2 separate regions of the Homo sapiens genome follow, and region 1 is linked to region 2. Evidence: promoter capture Hi-C in 16 types of primary human blood cells and fetal thymus (Javierre and others, 2016). All regions are on one chromosome and are shown on one strand. The core of a region is centred on a gene start or on the middle of the fragment in contact, and the rest is flanking DNA. Distances in the headings are between cores, read along the strand shown. Region 1 overlaps MMRN2 (multimerin 2). Region 2 holds the start of LDB3 (LIM domain binding 3).

The links. The method cuts DNA at HindIII sites, captures the fragments that hold promoters and counts their contacts. A CHiCAGO score of 5 or more calls a contact.
Region 1: a contact is called between a fragment that was not itself captured here and the fragment with the promoter of LDB3 in region 2, in 1 of 17 cell types (M1 macrophages). The highest score is 5.1, in M1 macrophages.

Annotation. Positions count from the first base shown.
Region 1 is chr10:86,937,241-86,941,601 of GRCh38, forward strand. The region is part of intron 6 of MMRN2 (multimerin 2); the gene reads right to left. Among named protein-coding and RNA genes, the nearest start is that of MMRN2, 18 kb to the right of the region's middle. RefSeq lists enhancers at 2,212-2,506, 2,650-2,699, 3,129-3,629. The HindIII fragment of the contact is 2,628 bases long and covers 1,040-3,667 here.
Region 2 is chr10:86,667,055-86,672,016 of GRCh38, forward strand. LDB3 (LIM domain binding 3) reads left to right here and starts at 1,457. Exons shown (of 14, transcript NM_007078.3): 1 at 1,457-1,516; 2 at 1,615-1,730. The coding sequence starts at 1,638. RefSeq lists an enhancer at 1,588-1,637. The HindIII fragment of the contact is 20,890 bases long and covers 1-4,962 here.

The sequences.
Region 1 (4,361 bases), core at 1,104-3,603, 270 kb after region 2:
TAGATAACCTAGATATTCCCAACAGCAGTGTTATTGCAGGAGAAAAGCTAGATGGCCAATTCTGTTTTTCACTAATAGAGAGGAAGGAAAATGCAAGTCTGTTGTCTGAGCTGGTGTACATTTTAACAAAATACTTTCATTTTTTTTTTAGACAGGGACTCACTCTGTCTCCCAGGCTGGAGTGCAGCAGTGGTCATGACTCACTGCAGCCCTTTTTTTTTTTTAACGTAGAGATGGAGTCTTACTATGTTGCCCAGGCTGATCTGGAGCTCCTGGGCTCAAGTGATCCTCCAGCCTCAGCTTCCCAAAATGTTGGGCTTGCAGGTGAGCCACCATGCCCAGCCACAAAGCACTTTCTCGTTTGATCCCTTTTCCTTCCAACTTCCTTGAGAGACAGTATCCCTGATTGACAAAACAGGTTGAATCCTTCACCGGCTGCCCAAGGCTACATGGTTTGTAAATGGCAGGCTGGGACAGGAACACGGGTCTCTGACTCCCAGACGACCACCACTTGCTAGGAATCTTGAGATACTCAGGGGAGAGGGAGAAAATATCCATCCTCAAGGTAATAATAATGCTAACACTGGGAAGGTATCTGCAGAGCCATGAAGGCTGGATCCTCCTGGATGTTGAAGACAGAACCTTGGAGAAAGAAGGAAAGAGCAGGTGGAGCCAGGGAAGAGAAGCCCCTTCAAGCTGGTCTTCTTTTTTTTAGTTGATAAAGGGTCTCTTGTTGCCCAGACTGGAGTGCATTGGCGATCATGGCTCACTGCAGCCTCAACTTCCTGGGCTCAAGCAATCCTCCCACCTCAGCCACCTGAGTAGCTGGGTCTACAGGCATACGCCATCATGCCTGGCTAATTTTTTATTTTTTGTAGAGACAGAGTCTTGCTCTGTTGCCCAGGCTGGTCTCAAACTCCTGAGCTCAAGCGGTCCTCCCACCTCAACCCCGCAAAGTGCTGGGATTACAGGTGTGAGCCACTGTTACTGGCCAAGCTGGTCATCTTACATATGGGTAAATTGAGGCCCAGAAAGAAAAAGCTTATTGCTCCAGACCACACAACTAGTAAATTACCAAGCCTCCTGGGAACAGACCTTGAATCTCTAGACTTCTGGTTCTCTGCAGGGACCACTTTGGCCAGCCTTAGGACAGGAACACTGACAGAACACTGGTGCCAGGCCCATGCACGGGCACAGAAGCAGAGGAAGCTGCCATGTGTGGAGGGTGTACAAACAGCCAGGAAGAAGCCAGTCCTGCTGCCTGGACAGCATGGTTGGGCAGCTGGGGACAGGGTCATGAGATGGCACAGGAAAGGTAAGTCCTACTTGGGTCCTGGCTGTGACACTGGCCTTGGCACCAACGAGGTCATGTCCACCATGGGGTTCCTCAACTTGCTCCCTCTGTAGGGGTTTAAAACAAGGTCCCCATTTCTTAGGTGATAAAACCAAAGCCTTCAGAGGAGCAGTTTGCTGAGCAATTACTGACTTGGGTCCCGGAACTCAAGCCTCAGCTCTTTGACTCCCAATCCAGCAAGCCTTTGTGAATAAAAAAATGTTGCTTTTCTCTAGTTCTGGAAGATTTTCTGAGAATTAGACAGCTGAGAATAGCTTTCTCATTTGTGTTCAGATTGTGTCAAATCAGCCGGGCGCAGTGGCTCACGCCTGTAATCCCAGCACTTTGGGAGGCCAAGGCGGGCGGATCACCTGAAGTCGGGAATTCGAGACCAGCGTGACCAACATGGAGAAATCCCATCTCTACTAAAAATACAAAATTAGCCAGGCGTGGTGGGGCATACCTGTAATCCCAGCTACTTGGGAGGCTGAGGCATGAGAATCGCTTGCACCCGGGAGGCGGAGGTTGCCGTGAGCCGAGATCACGCCGTTGCACTCCAGCCTGGGCAACGAGAGTGAAACTCCGTCAAAAAAAAAAAAAAAAAAAAATGCCGGGCGCAATGGCTCACGCCTGTAATCCCAGCACTTTGGAAGGCCGAGGTGGGCGGATCACGAGGTCAGGAGATAGAGACCAGCCTGGCCAACATGGTGAAATCCCGTCTCTACTAAAACTACAAAAATTAGCTGGGCATGGTGGCAGGCGCCTGTAATCCTAGCTACTCGGGAGGCTGAGGCAGGAGAATCGTTTGAACCCGGAAGGCGGAGGTTGCAGTGAGCCGAGATCGTGCCATTGCACTCCACCCTGAGCGAAAGGGCGAGACTCCGTCTCAAAAAAAAAAAAAAAAAAAAAAAAAAAAAAAAGATTGTGCCCAAGTCAGAGGCCGGCGGCTGCCTCTGCAATTCCCCTAACACCCTGCAGGTGGTTCTCTTGCCTAGCCGAAGGAAGGCCGGCCCGCAGCGCCCTCTACCGGTGCTAGGCCCTCGTTCCGGCCGTTCCGTCCGGGCGCCTGCGCAGGGAGTTCCGCCGCAGAGAGAGACCCCCACCCCAACCCAGCCTTGCGCCTGACAGGCCCTAAGATGCGGGAAGGGCTGTGCAAACTCAGAGTGTGCTTCCCTGCAGGGCACACATTCAAGCCCTACAGCCTTCCTACAAACAAATAAAGGGAAATTTGGGGTGTGTGTGTGTGTGTGTGTGTGTGTGTGTGTTTGTGTGTGTGTGTGTGTGTGTGTGTGTTTGAGACAGAGTCCTACTCTGCCGCCCAGGCTGGAGTGCAATGGAGCTATCTTGGCTCACAGCAACCTCTGCCTCCCAGGTTCAAGCGATTCTCCTGCCTCAGCCTTCCAGGTAGTTGGGATTACAGGTGCCTGCCACCACACCGGGCTAATTTTTTTTTTTTTTTTGACAGTTTCGCTCTTCTTGCCCAGGCTGGAGTGCAGTGGCGCAATCTCGGCTCACTGCAGCCTCTGCCTCCCGGGTTCAAGTGATTCTCCTGTCTCAGCCTCCCGAGTAGCTGGGATTAGGCGCCCGCCACCACACCCGGCTAATTTTGTATTTTTAGTAGAGATGGGGTTTCACCATGTTGGCCAGGCTGGTCTTGAACTCCTGACCTCAAGTGATCCACCCGCCTCGGCCTCCCAAACTGCTGGGATTATAGGCATGAGCCACTGCGCCCGGCCTGGAAATTTGTTTTTAAGAACAACATTTTTTTGAAATAAATATCGTCGTGGTAAACACATTTCCAAACCGTGGGGCAAATTCTGAAAGTCATCAGCATATTGAAGCCTTGCACCACGCACGAGAGGAAACAAGAGAGAAGTGTCAGTGTCGGTGGACACAACCTGAACCCTGAAAATGCTGGGGAAATGGGAAAACGTTGACTGCGTTCCTACATGAGGTAAGCCTCGTGCTAGGTATTTGGTAAACGCAGCAGTCTTCATAACAAAACTTTGACATGGGTAGGGATTCTGCCATTTTACTGAGGAAGAAACAGACAAGTGATGCCAGAGCCTGGGTGCTTCCCACTGCTCCACATTGCCTCTTGGGCCATAGGGAGGGTCAGCTGGGGCAGGGGCTGCCTGGGACGGGACCTTCAACAAGGCCTTGGACTTGCCACACGCCAGGCTGCACATGGCCAAGATGGTGGCCTTGTACTTAGCCCTGTGTCTGGGTGGGGAGAGGCCACAGCTCCAAGGCCAGCCTCTGGCAGAGAGAGTCACTTGAGACACAGAGCCTAGTTGTCCCCCTCCCGGGACCACACTCAGGGAGGGGATGGGAAGCTTGGTTGCACATGCCTTCAGCCTCAAAGCCAGCTCCCAGGCCCAGGGCCCTGCAGGGACCAGCCATGGAGGGCCTTCTGGAGGTGAAGAACCGGCACCCTAAAGACAGCGCTCCTCTGCTGCTCACTAGCTGTGCAAGCAGGAAACTTGTGTTTGCGCCTCAGTTTCAGGTAAGATGGAAGTGCTGATGAGTGTGTCATTGACCTGTTGGGATGGGCCATTGTGGTAAAGCCCAGGAAGGGGACTAGCACAGAGCGATGAGACAGGTTAACTGTATTTGCAGAGGGAATGAGCTCCTTTCAGGGCCCACGGCTTTCCCTGTACAGTCCACTGAGGTGTGTTCCAAGACCTTAGCAGGTGCCTGAAATCTCAGACAGTACCAAACCCTATATATACTATTTATTTTCCTCTATGTACATACCTATGCCAAAGTTTAACTTGTAAATTAGGCACAGTAAGAGATTGACAATAATAATAAAATATAAAGCAATTATAACAGTATACTGTAATAAAAGTTATATGAATGTGGTGTCTCCCTCTCTCAAAATCTTATTGTACTGTACTCACCTATTTTCTGATCGTGGTTGATGCAAGAAACTGAAATCAAGGCTGGGCACATGGCTCACACCTGTAATCCTAACACTTTAGGAGGCTGAGGTGGGCAGATTACTTGATCCCAGGAATTTGAGACC
Region 2 (4,962 bases), core at 207-2,706:
CTGCTGGCCTCCTGGGCTGGGCTGCATGATATAGGGTGAAGGAAGTGATTAAGCAGGGAAAAGGACACAGGTCTTTTCCTGACTTCTTCCACTTGATAGTTTTGTGACTTTGGGCAAGTGACAAAACAACCCCGTAATATGGGTGATCCTACCTTGTACCTTGCATGTGCCAGGCCCCAGGAGTGAGGCTAGAAGCTGAGAAATGACTCACACCCAGGCCTCTACTGACTCCTCAGGGTCCAAGCCAGACCCCTCCAAGAGGGCCAGCAAGCAGCCAACCCAGTTGCCTCCCCTGAGCCTCAGTTTCTCCAACCAAGGAGCCAGGGTGGGCCTTGATCTATCTCCAGACCACATAGGGGCCTGAGGTCTTTCTTGGGGAAGGGGTTGGCCCAAAGACCGCACTGGCAGAAGTCCCAAGGTGCTGAGGCCCCCATCCAGAACACACTGTCTCTGGGGTACAGGCTGAACATGCCACACGTGCTTCCCCCTCCCTGCCCCTCCTGGCCCTGTGTCTAGCAGCTGAGCAAATGGCGTCTCCTCCCTTCTCCCTGCCCCCTGCCATTCCTGCGCAAAGGGCACGGGGCCTGGCGTGTGGCACTGGCAGCTGGAGCTTTCCATGCTGCCGTCAAGTTTTCCAGAGCACAAAGACAGGAGAGCCAGGAATAACTGGCTGGGCCCCCAGAGGGTCTGGAGGGGATGGGCCTGCCTCAGACCTGCTTTCAGACCCTATGCCAAGGGGTGCAGGCAGAGGGCCAGCTGCCCAGGACCAGGGCTTTGGGAGGCTTCTGTGGCTACTGGGAGCCCATTATCTGGCATGCATTCTGTAGGAATCAGCCCAGGCTCCAGTGTGACCTGGGTCCACTCCTTGTGTGACCTTGGAGAAGTCATTTAACCTCCCTGAGCTTTGTCTCCTGCGGGCCCAGGTGGCAGCTTCTCAGGATCCCAGGGAGTGAAGGGCCCATACTGAGGTTGGCTATGCCCAGAGCTGCTGTTATGATGATCGTTTTTATGGCTGGACAACCCTGGGCCAGTCACAGACCAGCTGGAGGCTCAGCTCAAGCCAAGGCACCTCCAGGGCCCCATACTGGATAAAGCACAACCCCAGAATCCTGGCCAGGGACCACACGGCAGCAAAGCCCCTACCCAAGGGAGCTCAGCCCCTGGTCTTCTGAGCAAGAGGATGGGTACCACTGGGCAGGAAGAGCGAGTGTCTACGCTCTCCAGAGGACACAGGAGCAAGGAGACCAGAGCATTCTCACCAACCAGGCCAGTTCCCCTTCCTCCCCCCTGGGGGGTGCTGGGTGCCGGACACCCCTCCCCAGGGGCTATATTAGCCGTGTGAGTCATGGTGGACCGGCTGGGAGGCGGCAGGCTGGCAGGCACAGTGTAGGGTTACAGTCCATTTATGGGCGCAGCCGAAGGCAGATATCAGTGTCGATGGCATTCGCTCCCAGCTATTCTTAGGAGCCTCTCAAGAGCTCCACGCAGCCCGGCTGGGCAGCAAGGGACAGAACAGGCAAGGCTGGGGGTCAGGGGCAGGGGCAGAGGTGTGGACCGGGCAGGCGGAGTGCCTGAGTGCCCTCTCACTCAACCCTCTCTACCCTTTGTCTGCAGAGGCGGCCGCTGACAGCACCAGCATGTCTTACAGTGTGACCCTGACTGGGCCCGGGCCCTGGGGCTTCCGTCTGCAGGGGGGCAAGGACTTCAACATGCCCCTCACTATCTCCCGGGTGAGTGCACCCTGCCACAGCCTGGCACCCGATGGGGCAGGCACGCTTGGAGGAGGGCATGTGTGTCCGTCTGTCTGTCTGTCCTTTCTGAGCCTCTCAGAAAGCAGAGCATGCCCCATCCCCTGGGACTGGCCTGGTCCTCTGGTCTCAGCCACAGCTGTTTGCTCACTGGAGCGCGCCGGCCTGTTATGCATGTGAGACATCATGAGCAGGTGGTAGGTGTTTTTAGCAGAGAAGAAAATGCTGAGTTTTCAGGCAGGCAGGCAGGCAGGCAGGCAGGTAGCTGGACAGAGAGTACAGCACCTTCCTGATCCCTTTACTGTTAGAGTGGGCTCAGGGTGCCCCCAAGCCTTGAGCATTTCCCTAGATATGGGCAGCTGCTTTGGGAAGGGAGTATTCCCAGCATGGAGAGGGCAGGTGATGGGCAGTTGGATAGATGGACAGACAGACGGTTGACCTTGGCTGCCCAGCTGTCAGAGTGTGGGGCTGGGCTGGACTGAGTACTGGGCACCTGCTCCATCCCAAACTTGAGACACCAAGACCCTGGCTCATGGGGCTGGGCGCTTCTCCCCATTCACCATGGCTGCTTTGTCTGTCTCAGGTCTTGTTCCCCACAAGTGCTGGGGCCTGGTGAGATGGCCCCCTATCCTGCAGTGTCTGTGATGGGGAGCAGCATGGCCTGATGCAGATGACACAGAACATCAGGGGTTGTCTGAGTAACTCTACCGCCTGGCTGGAGACAGCAACACCAGAGAGGCAGAAAGTTAGCCATGCTCCTGAGGAAGCACTCCAGGAGCAGGGACTGATGGGGGAACAGCCCCCAGACCGTAGTAGGCACTCCGTCAGTTTCTGTCAAACAAAGAGACTCCCCAGCAAGGCACTGGTAGACCCAGGGCTGAAGGCCCCAAGGCTCAGGGCGAACTGTGAGGCATACAGGGCAAGGACAACCCTGCCTGGTGGCTGAGCCCCTGACCGTGCTGTTCCGGGCACAAGGCCAGAGGGGGAGGCCCCCAGTCTGTCACTGGAGGGTGGTAGGTAGGCAGGGGTATCTGGGCTACTGCCCACCAGGGGAACAAGGGGACAGTTTCTTCTCTGGGGCCTTAAGGACTTGCCTTGGGCCTGGGGGCTGGAGGAAGGGGTTGGAGGGGAAGCACTGAAGTGGGCAAGGCCTGAAGGGGCTTGGCAGAGGGGCCAGGGAACCTGGGCAGCGGGTCAGGAGCCAATGCCCCCAGTGGAGGAGTAATCTTTTTTTTGTTCCACGGGTACTTGAGGGGACCCCAGAAGTAGAAGCCCCACCCAGGGATGCCGTGAGAGCCTTATAATAGCCATAGAGGCCACATGCTTACAGGAGGGGTGCTGGCCTGGCTCTGGTGCAGGGAACAGGCCCTGACCTCCATCCTTCAGTTGCAGATGTGGCTTGTTCTAACCTGGAGATTCCACCCCTCCAGATCTACTGCCCTGGAGACCACAGGGTCCTGGGCACCCACAGCCTTGCACACTTTGCATGAGGTGGTGACCTGTGAGCATGTGAGCCCCAGTGGATTTCCCACTGCCCTTTCCCACAGCTCCCCACCCCCATGCTTGCAGGACTCCTTCCTGTATAAGGTGGAGCCTCTGTGTGCTCTCTCATGGGCCCTGTGGCCTCCCCTGCCTGGGACTGAGCCCACATCTCCCCCAGCTCCACCATCTCGAGGCCTCCTGCTGGTGCTCCCTGCCCTATCCCTATGGGTGCAAATTGGCCACTGGGCTCAGTGGCACTCAGGATAGCCAATGACCTCACCCAGGGTCTATGTGCCACCTGGCCCCGGCCAGCCAGGGGCTTAAATGGCAGCCCAGAAGCCTTAAGCTAGATAGCAGGAGGAATGTCCTTACTCTGGGGAGGGGGTATGCAGGGATGTGCTGGATCCAATGACTGTGGGGACTTCTAAAAATAGAACCCGAAGCTCGGGCAGGGCACCGGGGGATGGGCATGATATGGCCTCTCGGCTTCCTTTAGGGGCATACCCCAAATCACCTAAGCCGCGGAGCAGGCTGGACTGGGTACTGGAGCCTTCCCCAGGGCTCGGAGCCTCTTGAGAAATTTTGGTGGTAGGCTGCTGATAGCCTGGGCTTGTGTCCTGGTTCAGTGCCGCTGGCAGGGCAGGCCTTGTGGACACAGCCCTGCCATCCCACCAGGGCTGTAGGATTTACTGCCGGGGCTCGCAGGGCCCTTCTGCACCAGGGACATCCCCCTACGGGGGAGGCATGGCCAGAGCTCTCTGGAGGAACCCCACTCCCACCCCAGCCAGGACCTGAGCCTGTGCCATAGGGCACCAGAGGCAAGAGTGTGTGACCCTGTGGGGTGGGCAGGCAGGCGAGGCTGGGATCGTTACCTCGCTTCAGAGCCTGGCAAACTGAGGCTCGAGTCTGCTCACAGGACAGGGATGTCCATGGGTGGATCTCCTGTATCCTGTCACCCCTAACTCCCATGCTGGCTTGCTCACCCCTCTAACTGGGACTAATAGAGAGGCACTGGGGAGGGTCTGTCCCCTCTCAGCTGCAGGTGTGTGCTGCAGCTCCTCCTGGAAGGACACAGGCCACCTGCAGGCTGGGTGGTGGCTCCCGGGGGCTCATGGCAGCAACTTTGGGGCAGCAGCAGCCCCTCAAGGCATCCCTTCATAGGGTCTCTGCTTGCAGACCCACAGAGAAGGGAGTTCAAGAGGGAGACTGGGAAAGGAGGGTGGCGGGGAAATGCCTTTATTTATCCTGGACAGGTGTGGCTGGGCCTGCAACATGAGCTGCCCTTTCACCCCACCCCAGCCAGTTCTCCAGGAAGTGGAGAAGGGGGAGCAGCCCAGAGAGGGAGCAGCTCCAAAGGCCTCTGCCCTGGCAGCTGGCCAGAGGCTGGGGCTGTGGTCTGGGGTCTCACCTCTTCATGCCTCTCATGCCTCCGCCTTGGGGAAGAGGAGTATGCTTTGTTAGGCTCTGCTGCTCTCAGCTGTGTCACCTCAGAAGTCTGTTTACCTGCTCGGCCTCAGTTTTTCTCACCCTTAAAATGGGGATAGCAGGCTGGGCGCGGTGCCTCATGCCTGTAATCCCAGCACTTTGGGAGGCCGAGGGGGCAGACCACTTGAGGTCAGGAGTTTGAGACCAGCCTGGCCAACATGGTGAAACCCTGTCTCCACTAAAAATACAAAAATTAGCCAGGTGTGGTGGTACATGCTTGTGATCCCAGCTACTCAAGAGGCTGAGG